Regions from separate parts of the Homo sapiens genome. Here region 2 is linked to region 1. The links are contacts of gene promoters, found by promoter capture Hi-C in blood cells and fetal thymus (Javierre and others, 2016). All regions are on one chromosome and are shown on one strand. Each heading gives the region's core, a stretch centred on a gene start or on the middle of the fragment in contact. The rest is flanking DNA. Distances are from core to core; before and after follow the strand shown.

Region 1 (5,136 bases), core at 1,405-3,904:
AAACATTATCTTCAGTGAAAGAAGTCAGTCACAAAAGATCATGATTCTATTTACATGTAATGTCCAAGCTGGCCATGGTGGTTCACACCTGTAATCCCAGCACTTTGGGAGGTGGGAGAATTTCTTGAGGCCAGGAGTCCAAGGTTGCAGTGAGCTATGATCATGCCACTGTACACCAGCCTAGGCAACAGAGCAAGACCCCATCTCAAAAAAAGAAAGAAAAGAAACAAAGAAAGAACAAAAAGAAATGTCCACAATAAGCAAATATAGAGAGGTAGAAAATAGGTCAGTTGTTGCCAAGGGCTGCCAAGACTATGAGGGGAAATGGAGAGTTACTGGTAATGTGTATAAGGTTTCTTTTAGAGATTACAAGAATGTTCTAAAGTTATATTATGGTGATTGTTGCACAACTTTGCAAACATACTAAAAACCACAGAATTGAATATCTCAAATAGCTGAACTATATGACATAAATTATACTGCAATAAAACTATTTCAAAAATGCAATTGAATCATAAAAGATAAATTGCTTAGGTCACAGAATTCAGTGAAGCTTTCGAAGAGGTCATGTGTAAATGAGACATGAAGGAACAGCAGGAGCCTGCTGTGTCTATGAAAGGACAGGAGAAAACATTCCAGACAGAGACAGCAGTACACGCAAAGGCAGGGGAGAGCATGGGAAGAGAGCATGTCATGGCATGTACAGTCGTCCCTCAGTCTTCACAGGGGACTGGTTCCAGGGCCCCCGCGGATACCGAAATCCACCCATGCTCAGGTGCCTTATATAAGATGATGCAATATTCTGGTAAAGAATATCCTAAATCCTCCCACAGACCTCCAATCATTTCTAGATTACTTATAATAACACAACATAACTGCTAAATAAATAGTTGGCTGTACTATATTATTTAGGGAATAATCATGGGGGGGTAGTCTGTAGATGTTCAGTACAAATGCAGTTTTTTTCTTGAATATCTTTTACTCCAGGTTGGTTGAATCCACAGTGTATGCGGCACCCACAGATATGGAGAGGCAACTGTATAGTGTGTGTAGTCAATAATGCTGGTACAGAGATTATGGCCTGTAGATGCAGGGCTCCAGTCTGTTGGGGTAGGCAAGGACCAAATCAGAAAGGGCTATTTCATCATGCTAGCTTTCCATGAAGGGAAAGGGAACCCGCTGAAAAACTTTCTGCCAGTAGAAGCATCATTCTAGTATAAACGTTGAAAGGTGATCTGAAGGGAAATGAAACTAGTGATTGCCCAGAAGGAGGAAAAGAATAATCCCTGACTAAATTTATAAAGCCCTTACTCCCCGCTAAGCAGTTTCCTTCAATCATCTCATTTAATCACTAAAATGAGCAATAGTTATCCCCACTTTATAGATGATATCCACAGGGCTTGCTCCCTCACCTCCTGCAGGTCTTCAGGCAAGTATAAGTGCCTCGCACTTTCCTATTCCCCTTGCTTTATTTTTCTCCTGGTTGCTCAACTCAATTTAACATCTGTTTCGCTTTTGAAATCTTGTTTAAAGATTCTCTCCCACACTAGAATGATAAGTCCCTAGGAATAATTTAATTTGTATTTCAGTTCTGTATCCCCAGTGCCCAGGACACAGTCAACCCTCAGTAAGTACATAAATGAATACATTTTTAAAAATGAGGAAATCGGGTCCCATAGAGATTAAGTAACTTGTCCTTGATCGTACAAGTAATAAGTGGCAGAATTCTGATTTAACAACCCACATTCTTAAACCACTAAGTGGTTACACCAGAGTTGTAATATTGTAGGCAAGAGGCAAGTACCCTCGGACTGCGGTAGTGGGGAAGCGGGGTGATAGGTCTGCCTCGAATTGGTGATGACTGGATGTGGAAGGGCGCTGAAAGGGCTCAATCTAGCATGACTTTGGTTTCTACATTTGGCTTATGGGTAAACAGGAGAGCAATTCTTCAGGAAAAAGAATACAAAGGACTCCAGGTTTGGGCAAAACGATAAGAGGAGGACGTGTCTTAATCCACGATCCTTTTTAACTCTTTTACTATTTCCCTTAGATTACTAAAACATGTTGTTAATTTGAATATATGTGAAGCCAGTAAACCCAAACTGATCCCTTCGTCTTCAGTCTGAGGCCAGTGGGGGATAGGGGTGGGGATGGGGACGGGGATGGGGGTGGGGACGGAGAGGCAGACCAGAATAGGGTCAGCTCTTTTTTTTTTTTTAAGTTAGTCCAAACTTACCAAGAGTAGAAATAAGTCCCCAGCAGTGCTTAACTCTGAGGTAATTTTTAAGGCAGATGCTAAAACTGGAGAATACACCGTACCCTTGTGGAGTCAGGTAGTATTCGTAGTTTTAGATTATCCTGACGGTGTTAGTCACTTGTAGAAGTGACAATGTGCAACAGGCCACTGACACCCAATCCCTGGATGGCCAGGAGGGCAGGAGGGCACCCGGCCGCGGCCTCAGGCTGCTGAGCAGGCGCAGGAAGCTCGCGCCTCAAACGACTCCCAAACCCGGGCCCGGCGCGAAGCAGGGAAGCGCCGCTCACATTCCTGCACGCTCGCCCGGCCGCGGGCCAGCGGCCTCCGGTCCCCAGGTGGCGCTGTGGGCTCGCGGAGGCGGCCGCGGCACCAGGGAGCGTCGTCTCCCTGGTGCGCATGCTCGCCCCCGCTGCGGGCTAGCTGTTGTGTTTTTTTTTTTCCCCCGGGCGGCCCGGCGGCTGCGTACTGGCTGTGGGATGGGAAGTGAAGCCCCAGCGAGCGGCTGCAGCGGGGCCGTGAGGAGCAGCCAGCGGGAGGCGGCGGCGAGTCGGTGAGCAGCTGGGAAGAGCAGAACCGGGGCGGAGCACCTGCAGGCGCGGGCGGCGGCCCCACCATGGCGATTCGCAAGAAAAGCACCAAGAGCCCCCCAGTGCTGAGCCACGAATTCGTCCTGCAGAATCACGCGGACATCGTCTCCTGTGTGGCGATGGTCTTCCTGCTGGGGCTCATGTTTGAGGTGAGCCCGCCCCGAGTCCCAACCGCCTGCCCCGCCACCTCCAGCCCGGGCCCGGGCTCCAGATGCCAGCCCCGGCTTCTCCGCCCAGGACGCGGGGGGCTCGGGCCCGGGGTGGGTGCAGACCCCCAGTCCCTGAGGTGCAGGCCTTCCCTGCCCTGCCCCACGTCGGCGGCAGCTCCCCGGCGGCCGGCCCGGAGATGCAAAGTCCCGGTGGGCCTCATCGCGGCCCGCAGGGGGTGGGGACCGCCGCGTCGCCCCCTTCCTGACCCGCCGCCGCCCCCTCCCGCAGGCTGCGCGGCGCAGTTCCTGGTTCCCGCGAAGGGTTACGTGGCAGCCGGCGAGGGGCCTGCGGGCGGGGGCGGCCCCTGCGCTGCCGAGCTGGCTCGGGGCGGGTGGGCGGACTTGGGGGGACTGCCAGCCTCGGCCGCGGTGAGCGTCAGCCCCGCGAGGGCCGGGGAAGGCCGAGGCCCGGCCCCCGGGTCTGAGGAGTGCCGGCCTGGAGACCACAGGCCCCGAGTGACAGGGGAGCCCCCGGTAGCTCCGAGATTGGGGTGAGCGAGAAACCGGAGTCAGGCATCTGCTTTCGACTTGAAGGGCGGTGGCCGCCGGGCACCGGCGCAGTGGAGGCGCGCCAGATTGTTTTCATTTTTGTCTTTTAAACTGATATTATTACCAGTTAACGAACTTTTTGCCCTGACGCTTTAAAGAAACAAGGTCTGATGGATAAATCGAGGTTCTGAACAGCGGTGCCAAGGAATCGAGTAATTTTGTTTCTTGAAGTAGGAGAGGATGGGAATGTCAGGAGTGTGTAAATTCTCTTCCCACGTATCTAGTATTTTGATGACTTATTTAACAGCTGTTGAATGTGGATGATAAACTTTGCAAGGTGAACGAGTAACATCCTACGTTTTTCCCCTCGCTCCCCAATACACACGCTCATTCCTTTGCTTTTTTCCCTTTTTAATTTTTCTCTGGAGCCTTTATGTCTCAGTAAATATACAAATTATTTTGCTCCTGCCTTGTTTTGTCTCCTCTCTCCTGCATGTAACAAGTGAGAGTAGAGATTTTGGAGTATTTTTACGAGTCTGTATTTCCAGAGTCTAGGATAGTGCCTGGGACATAGGAGTGCTTAAAAAAAGATGAGCGACGTTAAGAATCCTTGAGAAAACCTAATGGAATGATATTACCAGTGACCAAAAGGTGAATACATTTTCTTTTTAATGGAGCATATTTGTTTTTTTTTTTAATTTTAAAATTAAATAATATTTTAACCTTATTTTCGCCTCTCATCAAATGGGCTTTTCTGGATCTAGATACAGATATTATTTACTCCTGATTGTGTCATGCATGTTTGAAACCACTGCTAAGGAGGTAGCAGGTATAGTTAAAGGGTAGGTAGAAGGAAACTAACATTCTCAAGCTTTAAGTCTGGGCTGTGCCACCTACCTACTGGGTGACCCAAGTCTGAGCCTCAATTTTTCTGCTCTTTATCAGGAAATAATATCACCTGTACTGTTCTCCTCACAGCCATTTTTTGCAAGTATCAGATGATATGGTGTGAAGGTAAATACAGTGCTAGGCCTGGTGCTCTGGCTTATGCCTGTAAACATCCCAACACTTTGGGAGGCCAAGGCAGGAGAATCACTGGAGCCCAGGAGTTCGAGACCAGCCTAGGCAACATAGGGAGACCCTGTCTCTACAAATGATTTTTTAAAAATTAGCCAGGAGTGATAGATAGCACGCACCTGTGGTCTCAGCTGGGCGGCTGAGGTGGGATAATTACTTGAGCCCAGGAGGTGGAGGCTGCGGTGAGCCAAGGTTTCACCACTGCACTCCAGCCTGAAGGACAGAGCAAGAAGACCCTGTCTCAAAAAAAACCCAATGTTAAACATTTGTATTCACTTTCTGAATTTGATACTTGCATGTACTTTCTGCTTTGACCTTAAAGTAGTACTTTAATATATGTAGTATATTCAATTTTCTGTAACTTGTCATAAACCATCTCCACATGGTAAGAATTCCTGACTTTAAAAACATATTTTAGGGGTACTGTGACCTGCAAGGTATATTTGCAGTGCTTTGAATGAAATGAAATATAAATCAGAAATTCTGACACATAGTATAACTTTGATTTTATATAAAC
Region 2 (5,136 bases), core at 1,567-4,066, 1.2 Mb before region 1:
TTTCAATGGCAAAAACCTCAATTACTTTTGCACCAACCTAACAGATGAAACTCAAGCCATTCAGGTGTCTTTTGACTTGTTCTGCAGAAGATCTGTAATATCTCTACGTGATTTCACTGTTGATGATAAACTTTGCCACAGACTCTTCATTTCTGTGATAAGTATTTAATCTTACAAAGGTAGAAAACAACTTCTCCACATTATATGGAAACCAAATAAGCACAGAAATGATGGTACTTAAAACTGTTCTAGTCTCAAAACAAACTTTCATTAGTGTTTAAAAACCTGGCCAGGCACGGTGGCTCAAGCCTGTAATCCCAGCACTTTGGGAGGCCGAGGTGGGTGGATCATGAGGTCAGGAGATCGAAACCATCCTGGCTAACACGGTGAAACTCCGTCTCTACTAAAAATACACAAAAATTAGCCAGGCATGGTGGCGGGCACCTGTAGTCCCAGCTACTCGGGAGACTGAGGCAGGAGAACGGCGTGAACCCAGGAGGCGGAGCTTGCAGTGAGACGAGATCGTGCCACTGCACTCCAGCCTGGGCGACAGAAAGAGACTGTCTGAAAAAAAAACCCAAACACAAGATCTGTTCAGACCTTTTAAAAAGATTCTATGATTGAGTTTGGTTTGCTCCAGAGTAAAAATTATAGTGGAAAAACATCAGATCCAAATAAAAGAATCTTCAGGAAAAAGTATAATATATAAACAACTACTGGTTTTCTTCAAACTCCTGACAACCTAGGAGATGCTGAAATTTGACCTATCGTTTCAAGAATCTAGTGAGTTTTCCCTTTTTAGGTTAGGACATCTCCCTGTGACAATTTTCACCTTTCTCCAAGACTTCTCAAAATATACTGTTGTTGTTTCTATACTCGGACCTTTAAACCTGTCCCATATCCCGATATGTGATTCACCTGAGCACAGACTCATAGAAAGCTACTTTGTCTGGCAATGTGCAGAATAGATTGAACAGAGCACAAGTTGGACAGTCCAGGCAAAAGAAACTGAGGCCTAGGCTGAGACGATGGTGGTGGGAATACCAGGGATAGAGCCAAGAGACTTTTGACTGCTAGAATCAAATTAACTGGGTTATAGACTGGATGTGTGTGATGAAAGCCAGGGTAAAAGCCACAATGACTACAAGGTTTCTAATTCGGGCCAGACAGTGAATAGCAAAGTCATCATGAGTCATGATTTATCACTAAAATTTAAAAGGGCAAGTTTGAAACAGTACAGAATTGAGAAACTTTGCCATTCATTTGGGAACTCTACCATCCATTGGCCCATACAGATTCTTATCAAATTTGGTCTTACTCTGGGGACTTAGATTCTTTCAGAGGGGGTAAAATCATAACTGAAAGCTTAAAGAGAGAAGGGGTTTGTGCAGCTCAGAGACACAAAGCTTGGAAACAGGGCCCTTGCCTTGATCGCATGTGAGCATGCCTTTTTTCTTTCATTGGATTCTAAATATCTTCAGAGCAGGAATCATCATTTTTCATTTTGTGTCTTATGAAATTACAACCTCCATCTGTCTGGTACAAAGCAGATGATCAATAAATATTTAATAAATTTCTCTTGATAGAAAATAGTTATTGCTACTCTTTAGTTTAAATTCCTTCTCACTTGTAAAACGAGGGTGATTTGATTTGGGAAAGTCCATACCCTGGAACCACCCGAGATATGTAGTCATCACAGACAACTAAGAAAGTATGTCTAATTAGTCACTACCATTTGACACTACTATTTCTGCTGTACATAATCTGATGGTGCTAGGGAGCCCTCAGACAGAAAAAGAAGAGTATTGACTGAGTTCAGTAAAGTACTTTAAAATGTAAAGCTTTAAAATTGGAAGAGGCAAATTCATACTGTAAACACGCTAAGCACCATGCTATACGCTTTACAGATATCAGCCCTTTAATGCCTCTGATCAGGCCCATGAATAGGCCTGTGATAGTCTTGATTTATGGGTGGGAAAACAGGCTCTCAAAGCTTCAATAACCTTCCAAGGGCCACACAGGGAATAACTGGTGGAATCAGAGTTTAAATCTATTTCTCTCTAGCTAAGAATCTGAACCCAAAACCATTCCCTGAGCCTCCCCAAAAGTTGTCTGCTGGGGTGAAAGGAAGCTGGTGGGAAGATGGTGCCCACCGATGAGACTAACTGAACTTTAGGAGTTAACTCGGAACAACGGATGAGCCATAGAGCTATACCTCCTTCCGAGGGCTTGACACGGGACGAAAGCGCAGAAAGGAGTCAAGGCTGTCTGCTTCCTTGGCGGTGCCCACCAATGCAACCCAGGGAGTGGCACTTGTCTATAAACATATTTGTTTCTTTTTGGGTTTGCTTTCCTCTTTATTTTATAATGAAGATGATTTGAAAAACACCCAATTTATATGTGCTGAACTAAAAAGAAAATAGATCTATTCTCACTTAGGATTTTTAGCTCACAAAATTACATACTCCTGGAGAGCCCAGCAGTGGAGGCAGGGAGTGGCCAATCTGAAGATGAACAAAGAACTGCTCCTGGGAGAAACTGAGGTAGGGGAGCCAAGAAATGCCATGACCGAGGAGAAGCCCCAGTCTGCCTAGAAGAGCTGATCATTTTTGTTTGACCTTAATAGATACTTGCTTAAGTGAGTTATAGGAACAAACAATTTCCCACCAACAACAAGTGATCCACTTTTTTCCATCTTCACCAAAGACAGAAAAAGAGAAAACATGTGTGAATTGAAACATATAAGAAGTACAGTAGATTTAATGAAATTGCCAGAGAGAGGTTTTCTAACCGTCTAGGATTTGTGATGTAGAATTTGCGCAGTTAGGGAAGAATCTGTGGTACAGATTTCGTAGAATCATAAAGCCACAAAACTTTAGAGCTAGAAGGTATCTCATAAGTAATCTACTTTGGTTTATCATGGCATTCTAAAGATAATAAAAAACAAAGACTATATGGTTACTGTAATTACCTAACCGGGACTGTTGTGCAACAATGTAAAATTATGGCCCCAAATTATGCAATACCTAGGAAAATTTTATGAAATAAACAGGATAAGAAACTATAATTATAGCAATGACAATAAAAATCAAAATAATCTAATCATTTTAAAGATAAGGAAAATGAAACTGGATTTTTGGAAACTGGCTTCTCATCTGTCTTGGATTAGAGAAAGATGCTGCTTGAAAGTTTGGCTTTTTAAAAAAAAATCCCCTTGTCATTTAAGGTCATTTCTGGTCTGTCTTTTACTGGCTGACTTCTCTTTGTCTTCCTCCCCTAAACCCTTCCCACTCCCTCTGCCTTAACCTGCAGAATTAATTCTACCTCATCTATATTTGTGCAATACTTTACACACATCTTCATTTTTAAAGAAAAGTTATTAAAAGTACTATATGCCCCAAAATGCAAGAATGGTGTGGCATAAGAAAATCAGTCAATGTAATACACATTATAGAATGAAGGGGAAAACTCACACAATCATCTTCATCGACATAGAAAAGCATTTAACAAAATCCCACACTCTTTCACGATAAAAAACAAAACAAAACAAAACAGAAAACCAGGAGAAGGCAACTTCCCCAGCACCATAAGACGCCTTTATGCTAACATCAAACCCAATATGAAAGACTGAAAGCTTTCCCCCATAAGGTCAGGAACAAGACAAGGATGCCTGTTTTCACCATGACTATTCAACACTGCACTGGAAGTTCTCACCATAAAAAGGAAGGAAACACTGACACGTGCTACAACATGGATGAACCTTGAAAATATTATGCTAAGTGAAAGCAGGTAGACACACAAGGTCACACATTGTATGATTCCATTTATATAAAATATTCAGAATAGATCAATCCTTTGGGACAAAAACAGATTAGTTGTTGCCAGTTCAAGGAGGGAACATAGAAACTGTTTAATAGCTAAGGGGTTTTAGTTTGGAATGGTGACAATATTTTGAAACTTATAGAAATGGTGATTTCGTGACATTGGGAATATGCTAAATGCCAGTAAATTGTCTACTTTAAAATGGCAATTTTTTTTTAGCATTCCACAGTGTGATCCTTTACTACAGCAAGGTGGCTGATTATCAAAAACTGAGAAAAGCAAGAGTGAATACGTTAAAAAGGTTTGTTGCAGATACAAGAAGGTAAGCGGAGGCAAAGATAACTCAGTGCTAGAGGTCTGGATGTGGCTCCTCAAGGAGCTCCCTGCAGCCCGGCTCCTCCAGGATGGCGCTCTGCACACAACCCGGGCAGCATCTGCTTCCCCGGGAAAAGTTACCCATTGACATCAGCTGTGTTTAAGAGCTAATTTTTATGTTAGGTGAATTTCATGATGTAACCAAGTTCAAAAAAATGAGTCCTTTGAAACCCAAATTCAAGGGCGGTAAATATATGTCAATGGGTATTTCCCCACTATATTAAGTACTTACACGCTCATTGTTTCTGCTGTTTGGGGACCTCTCTGCAGCTCCAGCACTTTCCACAGGATTCAATAGGAAAAATAATTGAGCGCCACGCAGCCGGTCCCAGTAATAAAAAGACGTCATTAGCGCGCCATCTCGTGGTAAATATATAAGTTGCAGCAAACCCTCAGGCTGCAGATTTTTTTTTTTTTTTTTTTTTTTTTTTTTTTTTTTTTTTTGTTAAGACAGGGTTAAGCCTATGTTGCCCAGGCTGGAGTACAGTGGCACTATTATGGCTCACTGCATCCTTGACTTCCTGGGCTCCAGCGATCCTCCCACCTCAGCCTCCTGAGTAGCTGGGACAACAGGCATGAGCCACCACGCTAGTTGTTTATTTTTATTTTTTGTAGAGACAAGCTTCTCACTATATTGCTCAGGCTGGTCTCAAACTCCTGGACTCAAGTGATTTGCCTTCCTCGGCCTCCCAAAGTGCTGGGATTGCAGGCGTGAGGCACGGCACCCGACTAGGGAGCAGAGATGAACCCTGAGGTTACTTTCTGTCCTTTCCTCAAGCCAGAGTGGTTTAGGTCACTGGTCATGAATACAAGGATCGGGGTTGTACGCCTTCTCAAAGACCTCATGTTCCTTAACATCAAAATGCTCTGACTTATTCCAGATTCCTTAGGAAACAGCCTGAAGGAAAGCCATGAGTGCAGACTCCCTATGGAACCTGG

Evidence for each region. Contacts are between HindIII fragments. The CHiCAGO score rates a contact against its expected background, and 5 or more counts as called.
Region 2: a fragment that was not itself captured here is called in contact with the fragment with the promoter of TRAM1 in region 1 in 1 of 17 cell types (M2 macrophages); the score reaches 6.5 in M2 macrophages.

The regions. Positions count from the first base shown.
Region 1 is chr8:70,605,934-70,611,069 of GRCh38, reverse strand. TRAM1 (translocation associated membrane protein 1) reads left to right here and starts at 2,654. Exons shown (of 11, transcript NM_014294.6): 1 at 2,654-2,993. The coding sequence starts at 2,871. LACTB2-AS1 (LACTB2 antisense RNA 1) reads right to left here and starts at 2,493. Exons shown (of 4, transcript NR_038881.1): 1 at 2,237-2,493. RefSeq lists silencers at 2,488-2,657, 2,738-2,787, 2,848-2,907, 2,958-3,137, 3,158-3,607. The HindIII fragment of the contact is 3,860 bases long and covers 556-4,415 here.
Region 2 is chr8:71,827,509-71,832,644 of GRCh38, reverse strand. No RefSeq gene overlaps it. Among named protein-coding and RNA genes, the nearest start is that of MSC-AS1, 13 kb to the left of the region's middle. RefSeq lists enhancers at 1,149-1,328, 905-2,104. The HindIII fragment of the contact is 1,641 bases long and covers 1,996-3,636 here.